Regions from separate parts of the Homo sapiens genome. Here region 2 is linked to region 1. Evidence: promoter capture Hi-C in human tissues and cell types (Jung and others, 2019). All regions are on one chromosome and are shown on one strand. Each heading gives the region's core, a stretch centred on a gene start or on the middle of the fragment in contact. The rest is flanking DNA. Distances are from core to core; before and after follow the strand shown. Region 1 holds the start of ZBED3 (zinc finger BED-type containing 3). Region 2 overlaps PDE8B (phosphodiesterase 8B).

The links. The method cuts DNA at HindIII sites, captures the fragments that hold promoters and counts their contacts. A contact is called where the count stands out against the background at its distance.
Region 2: a contact is called between a fragment that was not itself captured here and the fragment with the promoter of ZBED3 in region 1, in 1 of the 25 tissues and cell types used here (hippocampus).

Annotation. Positions count from the first base shown.
Region 1 is chr5:77,082,762-77,088,534 of GRCh38, forward strand. ZBED3 (zinc finger BED-type containing 3) reads right to left here and starts at 4,524. Exons shown (of 3, transcript NM_032367.4): 1 at 4,350-4,524. ZBED3-AS1 (ZBED3 antisense RNA 1) reads left to right here and starts at 3,954. Exons shown (of 3, transcript NR_182763.1): 1 at 3,954-4,858. It also overlaps a transcript of PDE8B not described here. RefSeq lists enhancers at 4,182-4,783, 4,784-5,386, 5,387-5,773 and a silencer at 4,196-4,365. The HindIII fragment of the contact is 7,057 bases long and covers 652-5,773 here.
Region 2 is chr5:77,237,732-77,243,504 of GRCh38, forward strand. The region is part of intron 1 of PDE8B (phosphodiesterase 8B); the gene reads left to right. Among named protein-coding and RNA genes, the nearest start is that of PDE8B, 30 kb to the left of the region's middle. The HindIII fragment of the contact is 3,733 bases long and covers 1,186-4,918 here.

The DNA of each region.
Region 1 (5,773 bases), core at 3,274-5,773:
ATGCATGTGATCACGTGTATACATTTAGGGAAAGTGTGTATATCACAGGATCTCTACATAAATAAAAAATAATTTTATAAAACAACCCTTGGGCCTGGGTGTGGTGGCTCACACCTGTAATCCCAGCCCTTTGGGAGGCCAAGGCAGGTAGATCACCTGAGGTCAGGAGTTCAAGACCAGCCTGGCCAACATGGTGAAACCCCGTCTCTACTAAAAATACAAAAAATTAGCTAGGCGTGGTGGTGGGTGCCTGTAGTCCCAGCTACTCGGGAGGCTGAGGCAGGAGAATCGCTTGAACCTGGGAGGCGGAGGTTGCAGTGAGCCGAGATTGCACGATTGTACTCCAGCCTGGGTAGTAAGAGCGAAACTCCATCTCAGAAAAACAAAAAACAAAAACAAAAAAGCAAAACAACCCTTGGCTCCTCAAGCATGTGAGCTCAGGCAGGGCCAGCCCAGCCTTAACTGTGGAGGCTGGTGGGACAGTCCCATGGGGAAGCCCACTGCTGCGCCGCTTGGAGGAGGAAACCCAGCATGTGAGGCTGCTCATTGTCACGTGGTTTGCTGTGCTCTGCAGAAGGAGATTCTGTGTTCACACCCAGGATGTCATGGAAGAGGAGCTCATCCCATTCATCTCCCTGGCACAGGGTAGACACTTGGGGGATGCTGCATTAAGTGAAGTGAACCTGACTCTGTTTCTTTAGCCCCAGCCCACCCGAGTCTCAATCTTCCCATCTGTCAAGAGAAATAATAAGATTATTTGCCTCTAAACAGGTGGCTGAGATCATAGATAGTGCAAATGATGTCACTGTTGGACTCTCCGGTGTTATATAAATTTAAGACATGAACAATAAAGAAACTACCGATATTTACTGCTCAGACATGCCCACGTTAAGATTTTAATGGCTAAAAGGCAGTTGTTTTTCCATCTGACATTATGTTATTCAACAGAGTAAGTAGTCTAAGTTGGAGGAATCCCCTTGGGAATTGACTACAAAGAGCAAATAAAAAAGAGTAACAGATCCAAGACCCTTACCCCTTAAATTTATTTTCACTTCCTAAATTGAACTTCATGCAAAATAGGTTATTTATCACTAGGGTAAAATAAGATAATGGGGAGGTTTAATTAGCCAAAGCCCTGTGATAACGCGTTTCTTCCTTACCAAATACCCAATGAGAATGCATATCATTAATTCTGTGGTTAGCTAATAAGAAAATGAAAAAAGCTCCCTTAATTTTTCCTTGAAAAAATTTTTAAACTAACACAAAGATGCCAATGAATGAGTATTTTGCTTACATCCATTCACTCCATCCAACTCTCATTCAAATGCTCATTGTGCACCTGCTAAGGTCAGGTGCGTGCTTTCTGCCAAGCATTCCAAGAGGAACGTCACATAGTCTTTGCCCTCAGGAAGCGTACGGTCTGGTTGGGAAAGAGATGCTTCCAACAATAATTCTGATACCTGTGTGATATGGTTTGGCTGTGTCCCCACCCAAATCTCATCCTGAATCCTACTCCCATAATTCCCACGTGTTGTGGGATGGAACTGGTGAGAGATAATTGAATCACGAGCGCGGTTTCTCCCATACTGTTCTTGTGCTAGTGAATAAATCTCACGAGATCTGATGGTTTTATAAACGAGAAGCCCTTTTCGCTTGACCCTCATTATAGCTCATGCCGCAGCCAGGTAAGAAGTGCCTTTCGCCTTCCGCCTTCCGCCATGACTGTTAGGCCTCCCTAGCCACGTGGAACTTTAAGTCCATTAAACGTCTTTCTTTTATAAATTGCCCAGTCTTGGGTATGTCTTTATCAGCAGCGCGAAAACAGATTACTAACACACTGTGGTAAAGGTGAAATCAGTGCTCACTCCTTCGGGTGAATTCCGTCACATAATCTCCACTGGGGAAGGGGTGGGCATGGGCAGCTCCTGGGAGCTGATGTCTTAGGGGCCCTAACACAAAAGTTCATGCAGTTCAGCATCCCTTCCCCTCCCATGCCCCACAGGGCACAAACGCATTGTTGTCCATCACCAAAACACATTACCCTTAGTACTCGACTCTAATGAAGTTCCAGTTCCTCAGTTGTATAACGAGGCTTCCAAGCTCCTATTTTAAAAGAAAGTTTCTTGAAGCTAAATAAAAGCACTGCTAACATGAAATTAACAGTGGAAATTTTTGAGTGTAATTTCAGGGTGAAAAAAACTGAAAAGACAAATGTAGATTTTAGATATTTCAAGGAAGGAGAGAGAGTAGTGTTGCTGGTACCATGCCTCTGCACTTGCTATAGCTGAGTTTCATTTGAGTATCCATTATTTGGAAGGAGTTCTTAAATCTAAGCCTGTGGAAGACAATAAATTCACATTAATTATCTCTCCATTTGACTCAATTTCTGAAGAAGTTCTATCCTTCTGATGAACTATCAGATTAAATCCCAGATTCCTCAGTATGATGTCCCTGAATACCAATATAAAGAATAAAGGAAGAGATCAAAACCTGGATGAATAATCTGTATAAACATGGGCATATACACAAGGTATGACTATAATATTGAGACTCATCCTATAAAGCACCTACAAAAGTTGATTGTATTATTTTATACTTATGCTTGTGCACATAAAAAATATTTGGCAGGCTAAAGGCCAAAGAACCAGGCACTGTTCTCAAAAGGACATAGCAGATTAACTACACCTCTATTTGTCCTTCTATACTCAAGGCTACTTACTGTAGTTGGGTTGACCAGGCAGAGTTTAAATCAATATATGTTGGTTGAGCCTGGATCTTAGATGAGAAATTCACACTAACGTGAAATTCACACAGACATATGTGGAAACACTAAAAACATTTTCTTTTACTTCATCCACCAGTGACTTTAATGAAAGCAGAGCATAATAATTAATACAAGTAATTAGAGTTGACAACTGAAGTGTCAAGAAAACCACAGTTCATCTGTTATCCGTCCATCTCTGTTGAAATATTAGTTTACTGCCATATATTAATCTATTTATAAAGAGATCCAGACAATTAGAAAAATTAGTCTGGAATCACCAGGCTGAAGGCTTAGCTGAAGTTAAAAGACAAGTAAAAATGCCTCCAAACTGTAAAACCTGAGTTGGGGAATAAATGGTAAAATGTGTAAAAATTTAGAAAAAGGTTATATGTGGACTGTAAAAAATACACTGGACTCACAGGTAATTAAGGGGTGAATCAGAGTTGTTTCCTAAATGGCATAAGCCAAACTCTTAGATATTTCTACCATTAGCTAAAAGGCAGAGAAGCACTCTCTCTCTCTATTAATGCACTTTTAAAAATGAAAATTGTGAAGTGTTCTGCCCTTAAAGTGGACCTTTATTTCAGGTCTGCATTACTTTGCTTAATAGATATGGTCCTAAAGATTAAGGTGGTGATCCATTTTATCTTGTAAAAATGCATAATTTAATCTGAGTTATAGGAATTTAAAGCTGCCCTACTTTGAAGGCCTTTGTGACTCAAAGATTTTTTTAATTTAATTTTTAAATTGAGAATTACCTGGCTTGGGCTTTTGGTCTTTTTATAATACGTATTGCTGTCTACTTTTTTTTTTATTCTTGGCTGCCTCAAGCTATTCTTGCCTCCAAAAGGTGTCAGCATATGAATAAAAACAGCAGAAAATAATTACCCTAATTAGGTCAATGTATTAAGCTGTTTCTACAACTGTTTCTCTTAAACACCTTATCTTTGTAGTCTTGGCTCATTAGAAATTCGACTAGTGGTAAGTATTTATTTTTTTCCTTCAAGGGGGTTTTTGCTTTGCTAAGCCTCGGGCATTTGGTTCGTGCAAGAAATCACAGAAACTGCTCCAGCGGACTCCGAAAGGAGCGGAAAATTCTTTTGTTTGGGGGCCATGAGGGGTGGGGGAGGGGTGGGGATTCTGGTGTAAGCTTTTGGCTTGCATTCGCTTTCTCCCTCCGAAAGTGGGCGACATCAAGCAAGTCCCAGTTACAGAAAGAACCCACTGCAGGGCGTCCAGTCACTTGCCCAGTGAAAAGACTGTAATCAGACAACTTTAATAAAGGGAGAGCAGGAGAGTGGTGACGAATTTCCACATTCCGAACAAGCTTGTCGAAAGAGGAGTGCAGGGAAGGAGCAAGAATGAGGCACTGGAAGACGGTGAGCGGGGCCTTGCCACAGAATCCCGGGCCCACCTGCTTTCTCACAGTCGCGACAGCCGGCCCGGAGAAGGGCAGCCCAGCGAAGGGCACGCCCCGCGCGGGTGCCAGGGAGGCCGGCAGGGGCGTCCGCGGTCGCTGCTCACCTGCGCTCCCCGCTGCCCGGCCCAGCCCGCCTCGCCACCGAGTCTGGAAGCCCACACTCACCCCTTTACCCGGGAAACGCGGCCGGAGCCGGCGGCGGGTCGGGAGTCCGAGATGGTAGATCCCCCTCCAGGCGCCTCGCTGACATTTTGTCCCGGACGGAAAACCTCCGCGCGTGCCCCTTAAAGACACAGCGCTGCATTCACACGTCTGCGGGGAAAGGGGGGCCGTCACGTGTGGCCTTCGCCCGAAAGCGGTAGGGGAGTCGCTCTGAAACCGCCAAGGATCGCGAGCGACAGATTTGTGTTGGCCAGGGTTTTAAGATGACGCAATAGCTGAGTGTGGTTGAAATGTAACTATTGTTTTACAACTTTGCATTAACCTTCCAAGACCTGAATTCCCGGGCCTGAGTCTCAGAGCGCGGTTTGCATCTTTGCAGGCTGTAGGCGCATGATGTCACAAGTTATTGGAAGAAATCCCTCCAACCTAGGTTGGGACAGATGAAGGCGGCGCTTATTGGTGTTCACCAAAACACCAGCATGGTGTACCAGCTTTGGCTAGATGATGCTCAGGTAACGAACAACCCCTGCAACTCAGTGGCTTAAAGGTCCATTTCTCAAGCGAATTACTGTGGCTGCAGGGAGCTTTGGCAGTACTCCACCAGTTTTCTTCACTCCAGGCTGAAAGGTCAACTTTTCTGGGCCATGCTCCCTGCTGGGCTGGTAAACCAACTTTGAGGGAGAAGGGGGAAGTCCAGATATGTAGTGTTTGCTATTTCTATGATGTAAATGCTCCCACAATGGCCGATTTCAAGCTACAAACAGTCCAACAAGTGGCTTGCCAAGTTCCTGGAAATTTAACAATTAGCTCCTGTACATGACTGGCACAAGCTGCTTTCCAAACTCACATTCCGCATGCCTCAGTTCTGCTCACTTTCTATTGGTCAAAACTTGCTGTCAGTGGGTGGGGAAGTGTACCCCTCTCTTAAGGAAGCCTTGCAAGTCTTGTGACAATGAAACAGGAGAGTTCCCTGATTTCCTCCCGGCCCCCGCCCTCCCACAGCCCTTTGCAGGACGTGCAACAGGGTTGTGGCTCGTGTGTTCGGTCTCTGCCTGCTGAAACCCCTTATGGGAGGTGGAGCATGCAGACGGACGGGTGCAGGAGCCAGGGTGCAAAAGCTGGGGCGCTGGGCTTCCAGCCCCACGGCAGTGTCCAGGGGCAGGATCCCGTGATTCCCGGAGCCCAAATGGGCGTGTGTTACAGTGTGCTCTTTTAGCCTTACCATCAGCTGACGGCTTAAGTGTTAACCAGCTCAATAGACCCTCTGCCTTTTTGCAAGCGCAGAGGGTCAGTGTGACAGTTTCTGTATCTCAGCTCTTGTCTCACCTCCCAGAAGAATCAGGTCACACATGGACTTGAAGGATGGTGAGTGCCGGGGTGGGGGCGGGGGTAGAGGAGTTGGGGGAAGGTTGGGGGTGTTTATTAGG
Region 2 (5,773 bases), core at 1,802-4,301, 150 kb after region 1:
TCCTTTAATCTGAAAGCTTTTCTTTAGAATTCTTTTAGAGCAGGTCTGTTGACAACTGATTTTTAAGTCTTTTCTGCATTTGAGAATGTCTTTATTTTACCTTAATTCCCTATGAATATTTTCATAAAATATAGAATCCTGAGTGAACAGGTTCCCCCCACCCCAGGACTTTGAAGATGATATTTCACTACCTTCTGTCTCCCATGGTTTCTGGTGAGAAACCTTTAGTCATTTGAATTATGGTCCCCCTGTAAATAGTGTACCATTTTCTTTGGATGCTTTCAAGAATTTTTCATTATCTTTAGTTTTCAGTAGTTTGATTATGTTTCTGGACATGGATTTCTTGGAGTTTATCGTGTTTTGAGTTTGCTAAGTTTCTTAAATATATAGGTTTATGACTTTTGCCACAGTTGGAAATATTCCAACCATTATTTCTTCAAATATTTCTTTGTCTTCTCTTTCTGAAATTCCATGACATGATTTTAAGACCTTTTGTTATTGTTCAGGTTCCTAAGACTCTGTTTTTTTAGTTCAGTCTTTTCTCTTTTGTTCAGATTGGATAATTTGTATTGAATCATGTGCAAAGTTCACTGATTCTTTTCTTCAATCATTCTAACATTGAGCCTATCCAGTTGGTTTTTTATTTTGGTTATTCTATCCTTTAGTCATCAGATTTTCATTTGATTCTTTTTTATATCTTCTATTCTTTGCTGAGACTTTAAATCTTTCCAGTTGGTTCAAGTGTTAACTCTTGCTTATTGGAATTTTTTATAATAATTGCTTAGTCTTTGTCAGATAATTCCAGCATCTTTGTCATTTTTGTGTTGACATCTATATTACTGAGGGCTCTTCATAGAAACAGAACCAATAGGATACACATAGATATACAGAAAGTGGTTTATTACAAGGAATTGGCTCATGTAGTTATGGAGGCAGAGAATTCTCATGATCTGACATCTGCAACCTGGAGGCCTGAGAAATCTGGCAGTGCAGTTCTAGTTCAAATCTGAAGGTCTGAGAACCAGCAGAGTCAATGTGTAAATTCTAGTACGAGTCCAAAGGCCAGAGAACCAGGAGCACTGATGGCCAAGGGCAAGAGAAGATGAATGTGCCAGCTCAAGAAGAGAGAATGAATTTGCCCTTCTTCTGCCCTTTTGTTCTTTTCAGGCCTTCAACAGATTGTATGATGTCCACCCACTTGGTGAAGGTGAATGTCTTTACTCAGTCTACTAATTCAAATGCTAATCTTTCCCAGAAACATCCTTACAGATACACTCAGATATGTTTTAAAAGCTATCTAGGCATCCCTTAGCCCAGTCAAATTGACACATAAAATTAATCATCACAACATCTGTCAATTATCTTGTCCCATGCAAGTTGTAATTTTCCTGGTTCTTATGTCCAGGAATTTTAGATTGATTATAAGACTTTGTATCTTGATTAAATCTTATGGTGAATCTTGATATTTCCGTTTTAGCAGGGAATCAACCCTGTTGGGTTCAGACCACAATTTCTAGTCAGCCTTCTTTTGTGGTTATATCAATTACATTTTTAAAGCCTTTTCAATGCTCTTTGAATATGTCCCATGTGTATGCCACCCAGTGGCCAGTCTGTGACCTGAAAAGTGATCTGTCTCATAATTTAGTTCTCTGTAATGTGCTTTTTAGTGTTAGATCCATATATATGCAGCTTGGAGGTGATGCTAGCAGTACATAAACAACCTATGGCTTCGATTTTCCAAGCACTTCCTTGTTTGCAATCTCTTGGTATTTTCAAGTTCCCTGGGGCTACTGATATCTGGCCACCTTTCTTTTCTCTAATTCTTTGTACAATAAACAACACCAATCTTTTCTCTCCTTTACTGGATAATTTTAGTGTGGAAAATAACATCTAACCTTTCTGAAATCGAAATCCACACTTTTGATGAACATGATCCAATTCCAATCTCTTATGCTTATGTAACTTTAAAACTTTCCACACATCTTTCTAACAAACATGGGCTCCTCTAGCTTTAGCTGTATTGTAAGATCTTAGATGAGGTTAAACACCTTCCTGTTCAGAGCTTTCATTCTTGTAATAACCCAGGCTTGTCTCTCCAGAATGCTCTTCTACTTGGGTGGCTTTTAAAGCATGTTTGTTTATAGCTGCTCCTGGTCCATTATCCCCTGGGAACACAATGTTTTATAGGGGGTCCTTGAGCAGAAAAACACAGCAGCAACCCTAACCCTTCGACGTCAGTCTCTCCAAGTGCATCTAAGTTTAAGTGTTTTGCTTCCTTCATCAGTACTTTTTCTGTGATCCTTCCTTTTCAACAAGCTCTCCAGTAACAGCACAAGACAAAAGTTAAAATGAAGCTTTTTTTTTTTGTATTTCGTTTTAGTCATTCAATTGAGAGTTTTTTGAAAGGGCAATTTAAATTTGTTTTGTTTTGTTTTGTTTTGAGATGGAGTCTCGCTCTATTGCCCAGGCTGGAGTGCGGTGGCGCGATCCCGGCTCACTGCAAGCTCCGCCTCCCGGGTTCACGCCATTCTCCTGCCTCAGCCTTCCGAGTAGCTGGGACTACAGACGCCCGCCACCGCGCCCGGCTACTTTTTTGTATTTTTAGTAGAGACGGGGTTTCACCGTGTTAGCCAGGATGGTCTTGATCTCCTGACCTCGTGATCCGCCCGCCTCGGCCTCCCAAAGTGCTGGGATTACAGGCGTGAGCCACCGCGCCCGGCCAAGGGCAATTTAAATTTTAATTAAAACTCCGAGGTCACAGGAGGTCTCGTAGACAGGATTCTACTCATGTAGAAAGAAAGTAGAAACCATAAGATAACCTAGTGTACATCTGCCTTGTCACCAGTCAGATAATCCTATGCCAACATCTTCTCCATCACTAGGGCTAGCTATTAATATCTTTTCAGTAAAATATGCTATTTAAAGTGTTATACCCACACTAATTATTCAAACACATTCAAATTGAAATTAACTAAGCTGACAATTATTCAGTACCCATTTTATGCAATAAGTGTTGTGAAAGGAAATAAAGAAAGAAAAATACATAACTCTTACCTCCAAGAAGCTTTCTGATTTGCATTTCCATAAAATAAAATTATTTTGTCTTTCAAATACAGGTTTCCAAATACAGAGGGATAAAATGTTGAATTAACCTTTTGAATAATACGTAGTTGCAACTAAGCAGCGTTTTCCTAAATAAGCATGTTTACAAAACTTCCTAGGAAGTGACCAGATTGCTATTCATTTTAGTAACACATAGTGAATTTTTTTAGTGCAAAAATGAGGGATAAAGGAGAAAAAGTGAGACAGTTGCAAACAGGAGTTGCAATCAACAAGGGAGACAGCAGCCAAATGAAAAGAGTTCTTTTTCTAGAGCACTCACTAGTATAGCATTTTTGGAAGAGTGGCTTTTGAATAAAACATCCGGAAAACTGGTTGATACACTTACTGTCAGTTCAGCACGCACACCTCATTGCTTTTCTTCGGCAAGTATTGGGAGTAACTCATCATTATAGTCAAATATGTATTCAAATGCTTTGACTACTGGAGATATCATAGTTCAAAGTGTATTGCTCTTGAATCTGAAGAAAGAACCTTAATTGATGTTTAATGTGAACTCAGATATTGAGAGAAGAATGATAAGACGTCACATATTTCAACAGATTTAAAGTAATTTGAGGAGGTAAACAGGCATAATCATTTTACTTATGGCACAAAAACAATCATAGTAAGAATAGTTACTAATATTTATTGAGCACCACATGAAGAGCATGATGTGCATTACCTCACTGAATCATGCAGCAATCCTGTCCTATAAGCACTATGATCCTTATCTCCATTTTACCAACATGAAGGATTAGAGGTTAGAGAGGTTCAGTAGCTTGACCAAGGTCACACTGTTACTAAGTGATGAGGCCAAGTCTGGGTGCCAAGGCCAGTTCCCAGCCACCATTCCTCCCTCTCTCATGAGATCATGTGTTCTTCAAGCAAAGTTCACGTTGGCCATCAGATTATTTCTCTGGGAAAATATTAAAGCTGCATTGATTTGCTAAAGAAACCACAAGTGTCTGGCTAACTTGCATTTCAAATTTTGCTTTAAAGTTTTAAAGTTATCATTTTAAGAACAGCTGCTGTAGCTGCTATAATGCCTCTGGAAAAGATAGCAGAAAAAATCCACTGCCTTGCCCACCACTACTACAAACAACAGCAAAACTTTCTCATGGTTCAAATCCTTCCTTAACTTGTCCCAACACCAAATTCACGCAAGGTGTATGCCGATGAGCCTCCTGTAAAATATCCAGAGCTTCTAATTTGGGGTAAGATGAATTAAGCACTCCATTCTCTCTCTCCAACTTAATGCAATTATAAAACCTGGCGAGAATGCATGGAGCAATTATTTAAGAACCTTGAAAAGTAAATAGTAACAGGTAGATTGGGAGGGCAGCCAGAAATGGAAGAACTACCAAACTGGTGGTGTGTTTACAATTTTCCCCTCACTGGTATCCCTCAGCCTGTATCCAGTGCTCTCCAAGAGACCTCCCTGAGTCCTTAGTTCTGGCAGAAGGCACAGGAAAAGAAAGGTGGCCAAATATCAGTAGCAAACGTGCTTAAAGAGAAGTTAACAGTTATTAGCTCAACATATTTCATCTACATCAGCATGTTTTAAAGTATGTTTCAAAGGACAATAGTTGTGCAGAATGTTAGGCTCAAATGAACAAAAAAGCAAAATAGTGGAGATCCAGTGCTGTTTGGGATTAGGCTCTTTGTAAACCACTAAAAGAAGCTAGATATATTTCTAATTTGGTAAAATAATAGGTATGATTTGGAGATCCAGTTTATTATGGCTAAAATTTATTAGTGAGACTTTAAGACATCAGCTCCTTCTGTTAGAAGTTTTATATCAAAATGTCAGTCAAATTTCTTTTTCTTTTTTTAATTTATTTATGTATTTATTTTTTGAGGCGGAGTCTCCCTCTGTCGCCCAGGCTGGAGTGCAGTGGCACAGTCTTGGCTCACTGAAAGCTCCATCTCCCGGGTTCACGCCATTCTCCTGCCTCAGCCTGTAGCTGCGACTACAGGCACCCACGACCTCGCCTGGCTAATTTTTTGTATTTTTAGTAGAGACAGGGTTTCACCATATTAGCCAGGATGGTCTTGATCTCCTGACCTTGTGATCCGCCTGTCTCGGCCTCCCTAAGAGCTGGGATTACAGGTGTGAGCCACTGCGCCCGGCCAAATTTCTTTTTCTTATTAGATTTAACATTCTAAGAAATACCAAAGATAAAAAGTATAATACCAATCAATTATACTTTTTAATATCAACTATACCATGTTTATTCTATTTTTTAAAAGTGGTCTCTTTTAATCAAGGCTTTGCAATGATGTTGATGGGAAAAGTTTATGGTGAATTTTATAAATATAATTCAGTAGCTTGAGCCTAACTTTTTTGGAGTGCAAGAGGAGTGTCTAAGAAGATATCTTCTATGGTATGTCCATAGATAAAAATGTAATACCTTTAGACAGAGCCAACTATACTACCAGAAAATATAATCTGTATGTTAAGTAAGCCATTTAGGAGTTAGCATTGCATTTTTTTGTTTTGAAAAAACACCCCAGCTTTATTGGAGTATGCTTTATATACCATAAACTTTATCAAATTAAAGTGTATAGTTTCATGAATTTTAATAAATCTATATAGTTATGGCAACATCACTACAATCTAGTTTTAGAACATTTCATTACCCCTAAAAGATCCCTAGCACCTGTTTACAGT